Linked DNA regions of Homo sapiens: region 1 is linked to region 2. The links are contacts of gene promoters, found by promoter capture Hi-C in human tissues and cell types (Jung and others, 2019). All regions are on one chromosome and are shown on one strand. The core of a region is centred on a gene start or on the middle of the fragment in contact, and the rest is flanking DNA. Distances in the headings are between cores, read along the strand shown.

Region 1 (5,243 bases), core at 1,781-4,280, 1.2 Mb before region 2:
CATAATATCAGTTCCTTCTGTTAGCTTTGATGATTCAGAGAGAATATATGTGTTAAATTAACAAGTGTATTAAGAACTTTTGACATCTGTAAACTTTTCCTTAGCTGGTACACCAAATGCCTCTATAATTCTTGCCTACAATCTGTGTGTTTAAGTGTGGACAAGAACAAAATGAGATGAATGTGTGTTCTCTGACTAACGAAGCAGCACCTCCATTTACTGTAAGCAGAAGGGGCCAGGGAGTAAAGGAGAAAGGAGGATATTTGGACAATGCACAGGAGGGGTGGGGTGGGGTGGTGAGGGAGAATGGCAGGCTCCTGGATCATCATGATCCAGGATTTTGGTGCTGCTTCTGAGGATGAAATTGTTTGCTCTCTCCATGTCCCAGTTCCAGGTCCCTAGGTTTGAACACCATGTCCACCCCAAGCCTACCAGCTATAGCCAGGGAGATTAGCTAAATAAGAGATTCAAGGGGGGCAAGGGGAGGGAGAACATTAGGACAAATACCTAATGCATGCTGGGCTTGAAACCTACATGAGAGGTTGATAGGTACAGCAAACCACCATGGCACATGTATACCTATGTAACAAACCTGCACGTTCTGCACATGTATCCCAGAACTTAAAGTAAAATTTTTAAAAAAAGAGAGAGAGATTCAGGCTGAGAAGCAACAACTTAAGAGTTGTTGAGGACAGAGTTTTGTGCCACCAGAAGGGAGAGAAAAACCTGGAACATGGCAGAAAGGCATCATGAAGAGAAGTTTGTGCAGGGGTTTCTAACATGTCTGGGTAGCATGGTGACTCTGCATGCTTAGTTCTCTATAAGCATAACCAAGCTGTCACAACAGTTTCCTTCTATCATCTCACCAAATCTCTTCTGAACTTCCTTTAGTTCTTCTAATGGATTTTTGCCCAGAAAAATAAGATACATCTCACTTAGATCCTAGTGTAATCAGCCTCCCATGAAAAACCCAACAAAACAATTTCTCAAAGCTTGCTCTCTGCTGTGTTAGATAAGCATTTAGATCCCATCTACAAGCATCCTCTTCTCCCCATCCTTTTGTGTAAGTACAGCTGCAGCTAGTTGTCCAGTGTGTAGGCAAAAACCACCTGACTCATCTACTCATACCTTAATGGCAGCTGTGTCCCAGGCTTCAAACTGTACTGGTTACTCAGATCTTCTAAATTGGGCATTCCTAATTCTAGAATCAGCAGCAAAGGGACCTAGGGACAGGTCATATTATTGAAATTTTATTTTCTTAATTTAGAGTCAAGTCATCTTGGTTGCAGTTATGAGAACACAGAATCCACAGTCTGCTAAGTTATATTTTCTGAAGAGCCCTATCAATGACCTTAAAAAGACAACAGCACCATCTGTTATGCACCACCCACAATATCACGTATGGAGGTTCATCTTAGAACAAAGATGAATCCTCAGTGAATACAGCAAGAAATAAACTGACTCAAGTTCCAGATTAGCCAGGCAACTGCTAGGTGTTTTGAAAGCAGAGAAGCCAAATCAGAGATATGAAAAGAAATTAGTACTCAGGTAGAGATGCTACAACATGGCTTTATAACAGAAATAACATATAGTGGGCTTTTTGTTGTTGTTGTTTCCCCAGATCCATTCCTTTTTGTAGCACTGGTATCCTCATTTTCCTCTGAGCCGTTCCTTGCCCACTCCCATCTCATATTTTTCAGGTAAAGTTGATTTCACTCACAGAATACATGAGTAGAACATGTGTTCTGGTCCAGCTTAGTTACCTCATTCTATCCTGTTTGACTCAGTGCAGTTTAAAAATGGGCACATGTCTCAAAGTAGGTCTGCCAGAGAAGGCACAACCTGAAGACTTAAGCTTTCAGAAAAACAAACTCTCAACTGCTAGACAGGAATGAGATTCTGTAAATGTGAAGCTTCCTTGGTGTCTCTGGGCAGAATTGAGAACTGAAGTAGCTCTGAGGAAACAGCCAAGAGGTGGATAACATTTTTTGAGCTGGGAATCAATTCATACTTAAAAAGAAGCCTAGATTTTTCAGTTTGCATGGAGCCAAAAAAAAAAAAAAATTCCCTTTAGCATAAGCAGATCCACCAATGGCAAGACGGGAAGTCCTACCTACATTGGCATTTTCCAATTTAGGAAATATTAGCTGAAACACCTTTCTCTACCCAAGCTTCTCTGCCTTGTTGAGAAGTTGAGAAGCAACAACTTAAGAGTTCTTGAGGACGGAGTTTGCTGCCACCAGAAGGCAGAGAAAAACCTGGAACATGGCAGAAAGGCATCATGAAGAGAAGTTTGTGCAGGGGTTTCTACCACGTCTGGGTAGGGTGGTCCTTTCTTAGTCTGGGGTTTCTACCATGTCTGGGTAGGGTGTTCCTTTCAAGTCCTTTCTTACACAGCCAATAACCTTCCAGCATCTCCCTGAATTAATCCGTGATTGTCCTGGACCACTCAGTGAAGCACTTCAGTATAATCAGCCTTTTTATAGAGGTCTTCCAAGTTAAACTGAAATCTGGATGTGTATCTCAATTACAAATAACATGCCTGTGTGCTTGAAACAGACACTGCAATGACTAAAAGGTAAATCCATGAAATAGGGGCCTATTTATTACCTACAGAAGCACCATTTAAGACACAATTGAAGTTTCAACTTGATTCTTTCTAACTTTCGATCCCCCTTTGGTATGATAATTATACATTTTCTAGTAAAATTATTTCTGCCATGTCATCATAACAGATTGGATTAAAAGACAAATAAATGAATTATATGCTAACCTCATAGGTAGCCTGGCAGAAAATCCACCCAAAAGTGTTATTTTATACCTAGTGGCAAAAAGTTGACCCAGTTGAATTTATTATTTGGGAAAACATAAATGTCATGTTAACATAAAAGGCTATTGATTTGAGGCAGTACTCTCGTGCAATGCTAAATTACTTTCCTAGTTCTGCCTGTGGTCAGTCTCAAAGGAAGTGAAGCTTTCAGTCTGTACATCTTCCAAGCCTACCACTTGTCTCCATCTGTGCTTATAAAAATCTTGCACTCATGAATATTATTTATATGAGTATAATATTAAAGTCTGATCAGGAAAAAAGAAACCATCTGAGGTATTTAACAGAAAAAAATACAAAGGTTTGGTTTAAAATACATTAGGGAATAGAAAAGATGAAAAAGGAATGTTAAGGTAACACTGAGGTAGCAGTTGCAGCAAACAGCTACAATGGGAAGAGATGGGGCAGCGATGAGATGGGATAACAAAGAGAAGAGTTTGGAGATATTGGAATGTAGAAGCTTGAGGAAGAGACTGTGTGGAGCCTGGAAACAGTGTCCTGTGGCCACGGTGTAGAGCCCTTGCCAGGCTAATGCTGGTAGAAACTGCAAGCACTTCGGGAAGGGCGGGTCTCTCCTCCCTTCTTCTTGTCTTCCAGTCTCCTTCAAGGGGACACAAACCAAAAAGCTGTTCTAGAAGATTTGGAGAAATTAAGGGTTGCTATATGACAAGTTACTGAAAGTTAAATATTAGATATCCTTTTAAAAAACGTCTCCTCAGTCATTTCATCCATGTGAAAATCCTCTTTGGCCTTATTTTGAGGGGGCTCTTCCAATATGCTCCTGATCCTTTGATTTTGAACTTCCACACATCTTCCCCCTTTTCTTCATTTCCTGATCCCTTTACTGTTTCTCTCCTGGGATTCCCCTAATGATTCAAAATTATTATTTTCTATAATTCAACCCTCTTCACCCCCATCCTTTCTCATTTCAGACCATGCCCTTCAGAAGACTTCTTTTTCACACAGATTTCTGTAGAGTTTGTTATTCTGTCCTGAGATTAATTTTGTTCCTTTTTTGGAATAAGAACCAGTTACAGTTAATTATTATTTTTATTATTATTTTATTTTGAATTAATTATAGATTCACATGAAGTTGTAAGAAATAATGCAGATAGGTCCAGTGTAGCCTTACTGTTTTCCCCAGTGGTAACCTCTTGAAAACTTATAGTACAATACAATCAAGATGTTGACATGGATATAGCCAAGATTTAGAACATTTCCATTACCATAAGGATCTCTCTTGTCCTTTTATAGTCACACCCACTCCCCACCCCTACTCCCTGCATCCATGAACCTGTTCTTCATTTTATAATTTTGTCATTTGAAGAATGATATGTAAATAGAATGAAACATTATGCACTCCACTTAGAATTGATTTTTATTCACTCAGAGTGGTTTTAATTTACACTTTAATAGCTAATGATGTTTTATATCGTTCATGTGCTTATTTGCTATCTGTATCTTGGTGAAATGTCTCTTTATGTCTTGTGCCCATGTTCTAATTGAATTGTTTGCTATTTGTTTTATTTGCTGTTGAGTTTTGAGAATTCTTTATTATAAACACTAGTTCTTTGTAGGTTGCAAATATATTTTCCTCTGTAGTTTCTCTTTTCATCTTCTCAGTAGGTTCTTTTGTAGAACAAATTTTAAAAATATTCATGAAGTCCAAATTATCAATTTTTTTCTTTTATGGATCGTGCTTTTGGTGTCAAGTCTATAAACTCTTTGCCTAGTTAGACTTACAAGATTTTTTCTTATGTTTTTATTCTAAAAGCTTGATAGTTACATATTTTATATGTAAGCCCAAGTTCCATTTTGAATTAATGTAGAAGGTGTGAGACAGGCCAAGCTTTATTTTTATTTATTTATTATTTATTGGATGTCCAATTGTTCCAACATCATTTATTGAAAAAGTAATCTTTCCTCCATTAAATTGCTTTTGCACCTTTGTCAAAATATCAGTTGGGTACATTTGTATGGAAATACTTCTGGGTTCTTCTGTTCCATTGATTTATGTGCCTACCCCTCCAGCCCTGACACACTCCATCCATACCACACCATCAGTACCACACACACAGTCTTAATGATTGTACCTAAAAAGCAAGTTTTGAAATTTGGGTAGATGGATTCCTTCCACTTTATTCTTCTTTGTTAAAATAGTTTGAGATATTCTAGCTCATTAGCCTTCCAATATAAATTTTAGAATAGTTTTGTCTATAACCACAAAAAATCTTGGTGGGATTGTGGTAGAAATTACATTAAACCTGATTATCAATTTGGGGAGAACTGAAGTATATACTGTATGGGATTATAATTGATTGTTGTATGTTTATTTTGTATTATGCAACCTTCCTAAACTTGGTTATTATTTCTAGGAGGTTTTGTGTTTTGTTTTTGTAAATTGCTTGGTAATTTC
Region 2 (5,315 bases), core at 893-3,392:
TAGACGGGACAGCAGACACAAAAGCCCTTAAAGAGCATGATGAAGACTTTCTAAGTTATTTCACTGGAAGCCTGATAGTGGGGCAAGTGTAAGGCAAAATTCTTAATTAAATTGAACATGATAAGTTGAATTCTGTCTTCGAGAACATAGAAAAGAATTATGAAATGCCACATGTGGTTACAAGTAATGCAGACCCAAGGCTCCCCAGGGACAAGAAGTCTTGTGTTAATCTCTTTGTGGCTCTGAAAGAAAGAGAGAGAGAAAAGATTAAGCCTCCTTGTGGAGATCATGTGATGACTTCCTGATTCCAGCCAGAGGCAGCATTTCCATGGAAACTTCTCTTCCTCTTCACCCACACACTGCTCCATGTACCTGCAAAGCCTGTTCTGTCTCAAAAAAGTTGTTTGGATGAGCCGTGACTTTTTTTTTTCTTAAATAATGAGACAAACTCCAGAAAAAGAGAAAAAAGCAGAGCAGTCTGACATTCCGGCATCATCGAAATAGTGATGGCTTTTCCTAGAATGCTTCAGCTAAGGACCCAAATACTAATGATCTCCTCAAAGCTTTCACTTTCTTTTACTTTTTCATTAATTTCAGTGGACCCCCAAACTTTAAGTATGGAAGAGGACAAAGAAGGAAGCTTCAGAGGGGCAACTTTGATTTGACTACTCTTTTTGTCACTCTTCAGCTCACAAAAGAGCTCACTTTAGTTCAAAACACAAAGTCTTTAAGCCCCTCCATAGATTGGTCCCAGGTTTAATTTTCTATGATGTGTGGAGGCCTCAGTTTAATGCTCCAACTTGATAGATGAAACACAGTTCCCACCTCTACACATTTCCCCTGTCTCAGGAGTTGTATATATTCTCAGTTGTCTGTCCAACTTATGCCCACTCTTTGAGATATTAATCAAGGCACTCCCTTGATAACACTTGCATATTATTATCAAAATTATGCAATTCTTTCTAATATCAGCCCACAAATACATCTCTTCCATTAAAAGTTTGACTTAATTATCTATACTACTCATTTGAAAACTAACATAGTTAAGTTGTATTTTTAGCCATGAATTTCAGTTTCCCTAGCTCACTATACACAGAGAAGGAACTTTTGAAATAATTGAGATGATCAAAAATATTTGCTGAAGAAATATATTTCTCCTTTTTCATTCACTCACTAATTGAGAATGTCTTTGCACAAAACACATTGCAAAAACATTTTCAAAAAAATTCCTAATTTCTAGAATTGATAGGAAAAACAATATGGCTACAGCATTGGAGAGAGAGAGAAAGGAGAGAGGAGAAAGGAGAGAGAGAGAAAGGAGAGAGGAGAGAGACAGAGGAGAGAGAGAGAGGATAGAGGGGAGAGAGAGAGAGGAGAGAGACAGAGGAGAGAGAGAGAGGATAGAGGGGAGAGAGAGGGAGAGGGAGAGAGAGGGAGAGAGAGGGAGAGAGAGAGAGAGAGAGGGAGAGAGAGAGAGAAAGAGAGAGAGAGGGAGAGAGAGAGAGAGAGCTCTTTAACGTGAGATATCCCCACAATGAAGCAAATCGCCCAGTTATCAAAGTGAGCTATCCTTAGGAGTTGTCAGAAAATGCATCAGGATTATCAGAGAAAAGTATCAGAAAGATTTTTTTTTCTGATACGTTGTATAAAATAAACAAACTGAAATTCAATAACATATAAGGAATTCTGTCTGGGCTCTGAAGACAATCTCTCTCTGCATATTGAGTTCTTCAAACATTGTAGCCTCTTTATGGTCTCTGAGAAATAACTACCTTAAACCCATAATCTTTAATACTTCCTAAACTTTCTTAATAAGAGAAGCTCTATTCCTGACACTACCTCTCATTTGCAAGGTCAAATCATCATTAGTTTTGTAGTCTATTAACTGGGTTTGCTTAGGTCAGGCATTATTATTACTAACCTTATTGTTAATATTCTAACCATAAGAATTAAACTATTAATGGTGAATAGAGTTTTTCACTTTAACATAGGCCTATCCCACTGGTGGGATACGAGCCAATTCGAAAGAAAAGTCAGTCATGTGCTTTTCAGAGGATGAAAGCTTAAGATAAAGACTAAAAGTGTTTGATGCTGGAGGTGGGAGTGGTATTATATAGGTCTCAGCCAAGACATGTGATAATCACTGTAGTAGTAGCTGGAAAGAGAAATCTGTGACTCCAATTAGCCAGTTCCTGCAGACCTTGTGAGGACTAGAGGAAGAATGCTCCTGGCTGTTTTGTACTGCCTGCTGTGGAGTTTCCAGACCTCCGCTGGCCATTTCCCTAGAGCCTGTGTCTCCTCTAAGAACCTGATGGAGAAGGAATGCTGTCCACCGTGGAGCGGGGACAGGAGTCCCTGTGGCCAGCTTTCAGGCAGAGGTTCCTGTCAGAATATCCTTCTGTCCAATGCACCACTTGGGCCTCAATTTCCCTTCACAGGGGTGGATGACCGGGAGTCGTGGCCTTCCGTCTTTTATAATAGGACCTGCCAGTGCTCTGGCAACTTCATGGGATTCAACTGTGGAAACTGCAAGTTTGGCTTTTGGGGACCAAACTGCACAGAGAGACGACTCTTGGTGAGAAGAAACATCTTCGATTTGAGTGCCCCAGAGAAGGACAAATTTTTTGCCTACCTCACTTTAGCAAAGCATACCATCAGCTCAGACTATGTCATCCCCATAGGGACCTATGGCCAAATGAAAAATGGATCAACACCCATGTTTAACGACATCAATATTTATGACCTCTTTGTCTGGATGCATTATTATGTGTCAATGGATGCACTGCTTGGGGGATCTGAAATCTGGAGAGACATTGATTTTGCCCATGAAGCACCAGCTTTTCTGCCTTGGCATAGACTCTTCTTGTTGCGGTGGGAACAAGAAATCCAGAAGCTGACAGGAGATGAAAACTTCACTATTCCATATTGGGACTGGCGGGATGCAGAAAAGTGTGACATTTGCACAGATGAGTACATGGGAGGTCAGCACCCCACAAATCCTAACTTACTCAGCCCAGCATCATTCTTCTCCTCTTGGCAGGTAAGATATGCTAGATATACGATGTCAGAGTAGGGAGGAACCTTAACAATCACTTCTTCAGGCAGGGTATAAACTTCTCACCTGAACACTCATTGCAGCCCCCATCAAGGACAGAAATGGTGCCCTGTTAAGAACTCTCAATGTATCTTGTATTTTTCCTTTATAGCACACTTTAGATATTTGTGTAATTATTTGTTTAATGACTTCTACTAGGTTTCTAAACTGCAATGAACAGAGTACTTGATTCATTATTGCATTTCCCAGAACATAGTATGGTGCCTTTAAAAATGGCAATAGTGCATTATGTATTTTGTGAATTGAATAAATGAGTGAATGAATGAATATCTGGATGATTAAAAAAACAAATGATATACACTAATGTCTCTGAAAAATAAAATTATTATTCACAACAGGATTCATATGGTGTACAAATTAAAAATGCAAATTCCTGGCCTTATCCCAGACTAATTGGTCAGAATCTTCAGGAGAGAGTCCCGAGAAGGCACAATTTACTAAATGTCTATGGTGATTCTTTTAATCAGGAATGTTTGGGAAATAATTATTGGATTAGATCTTCATTTTTGAAAGTATGAAGATCCTGAGGCTTAAACAGGTAAATAATGAAGATGGCTAATATTCATTGAACATCTAGCATGTGCAAACCCCGTGGCAAGTGTTTTTGTGCATTCGTTCATTTCATGCTCTTATCAGTCTTTCCCTATTTTAGAGGTTATAAAGGTATCAGGTAACTTGTATAAGATCATACAGCTAATAAGCAGCAAAAAAAAAATCACATTTATTCTCTAATAGTCCAGCTGTATGACCACTGTATCCTATTTCCAAGGATGTGACTGCTGTGATATCTTTAGCTAAAGGATCTGGTTCATTCTGTCTCACTTTTTCTTTAGGCTGCATTAGAAGTTAGCTTTCTTTCTCAGTCCTTGAAAACTTTAGATAAAATATGAAGCATTACTATTTGGAATTGAATTCCTATTTCATCTATTCTGAATTTTTCATTCTGAATTAGGGGCAAATGGTAACCAAAGAAATATGTGCTTAATTATTTATCATTTTAAAACCATATGTTAAAGGAATGCTTTTCTGCCTGTCTTCCAAAAATTTCTAATACAGCACTTTTGACTAGCAATGCTCTATGAAATTAAGCCCAATATGTGAATGGGATGGGAAGAATCTTGCACTCAATTTCCCACAATCTGCAGTTTTGAAATGTAGATGGCCTTCTCCGCCCAACCAAGTTTGTACCCCATCCCAATGGAGTCTACTGAAGTTCATTTAAAAAATAGCCACTGTATAATTTCTGGTGTTATTAGTCAGCTATTTACCAAATGTAATGGGTTTTGTGCAGGAAAGGCTAGAAAAAATGTGCTTGGAAAAAAATCTATTTCAATAAGCTTTCAGACCTCCTACCTTAATCTATAATGTGCAAACTCTCATCTAGCTCTTATATCCTCTGTTCCTGTTTAAAAAACTGCCAGGATTGGACATGGGATTTTCAGTCAGTTATGATGCTTTATTTAACTATGTGGCTTAACTTGACCCAGAAAGGTTGGAGGACTGTCTAAATTACCAAAATAAGCTGCAACATCCACAGGAAATCTTAATAGATAGATACACATTAATTTTTAATTACATGAGATGTGTAATACCAGATGCTATCCACAACTGTATGAGTATTATTTTCCTAATTACTTATTAATTGTCAAGCAGAACTTTTTCCTTTTTCTCTCTTCATGAATGTGTTCAATTTTAATACTCTCTAGAAAAAAAAAAAAGTGTGTCAAGTCAGTAAGCCCTGAACTGAAATTGATACAATTATCAACTTCAACCTTGTTCTATGATTAAATTGCTGTGTAGAAACAGGTTTCAAAAATAAAATTAGAAAACAGAGTGGAAGGAAGATGACTGAAGAGAAACAAGCAAACCACAGTTTAAGAAAGGTGAAATGAGCATTTGCTGCTCACCTACTATGTTTTAGTAGTGTCAAGGGCTTATTAGTGGCAAAGGTGACAGTCAAACCCCACTCACATTGGCTGTTTCCATTCCTTCACACAGCCTCTCTGGTTACAAAGTCCTTAAAATAGTTAAGATCGATTGCTTACATTGCTTTAATTCAGAGTTCTCAATGTCAAAATCACCTAGGAAGCTTCCAAAAAACCATTTAAAAAGTAAAAATAAAAAACTGTTGCAAGGTTTTTATGCACCTAATTTCTTGCCAGAAATTCAGATTCAGGTGGTCTCCTGTGAGGTTGTAAAG

Evidence for each region. Contacts are between HindIII fragments. The study calls those that stand out against the background at their distance.
Region 1: a fragment that was not itself captured here is called in contact with the fragment with the promoter of TYR in region 2 in 1 of the 25 tissues and cell types used here (dorsolateral prefrontal cortex).

The regions. Positions count from the first base shown.
Region 1 is chr11:87,931,659-87,936,901 of GRCh38, forward strand. It overlaps a transcript of RAB38 not described here. Among named protein-coding and RNA genes, the nearest start is that of LINC02711, 210 kb to the left of the region's middle. The HindIII fragment of the contact is 3,215 bases long and covers 1,424-4,638 here.
Region 2 is chr11:89,175,733-89,181,047 of GRCh38, forward strand. TYR (tyrosinase) reads left to right here and starts at 2,143. Exons shown (of 5, transcript NM_000372.5): 1 at 2,143-3,040. The coding sequence starts at 2,222. The HindIII fragment of the contact is 5,969 bases long and covers 1-3,257 here.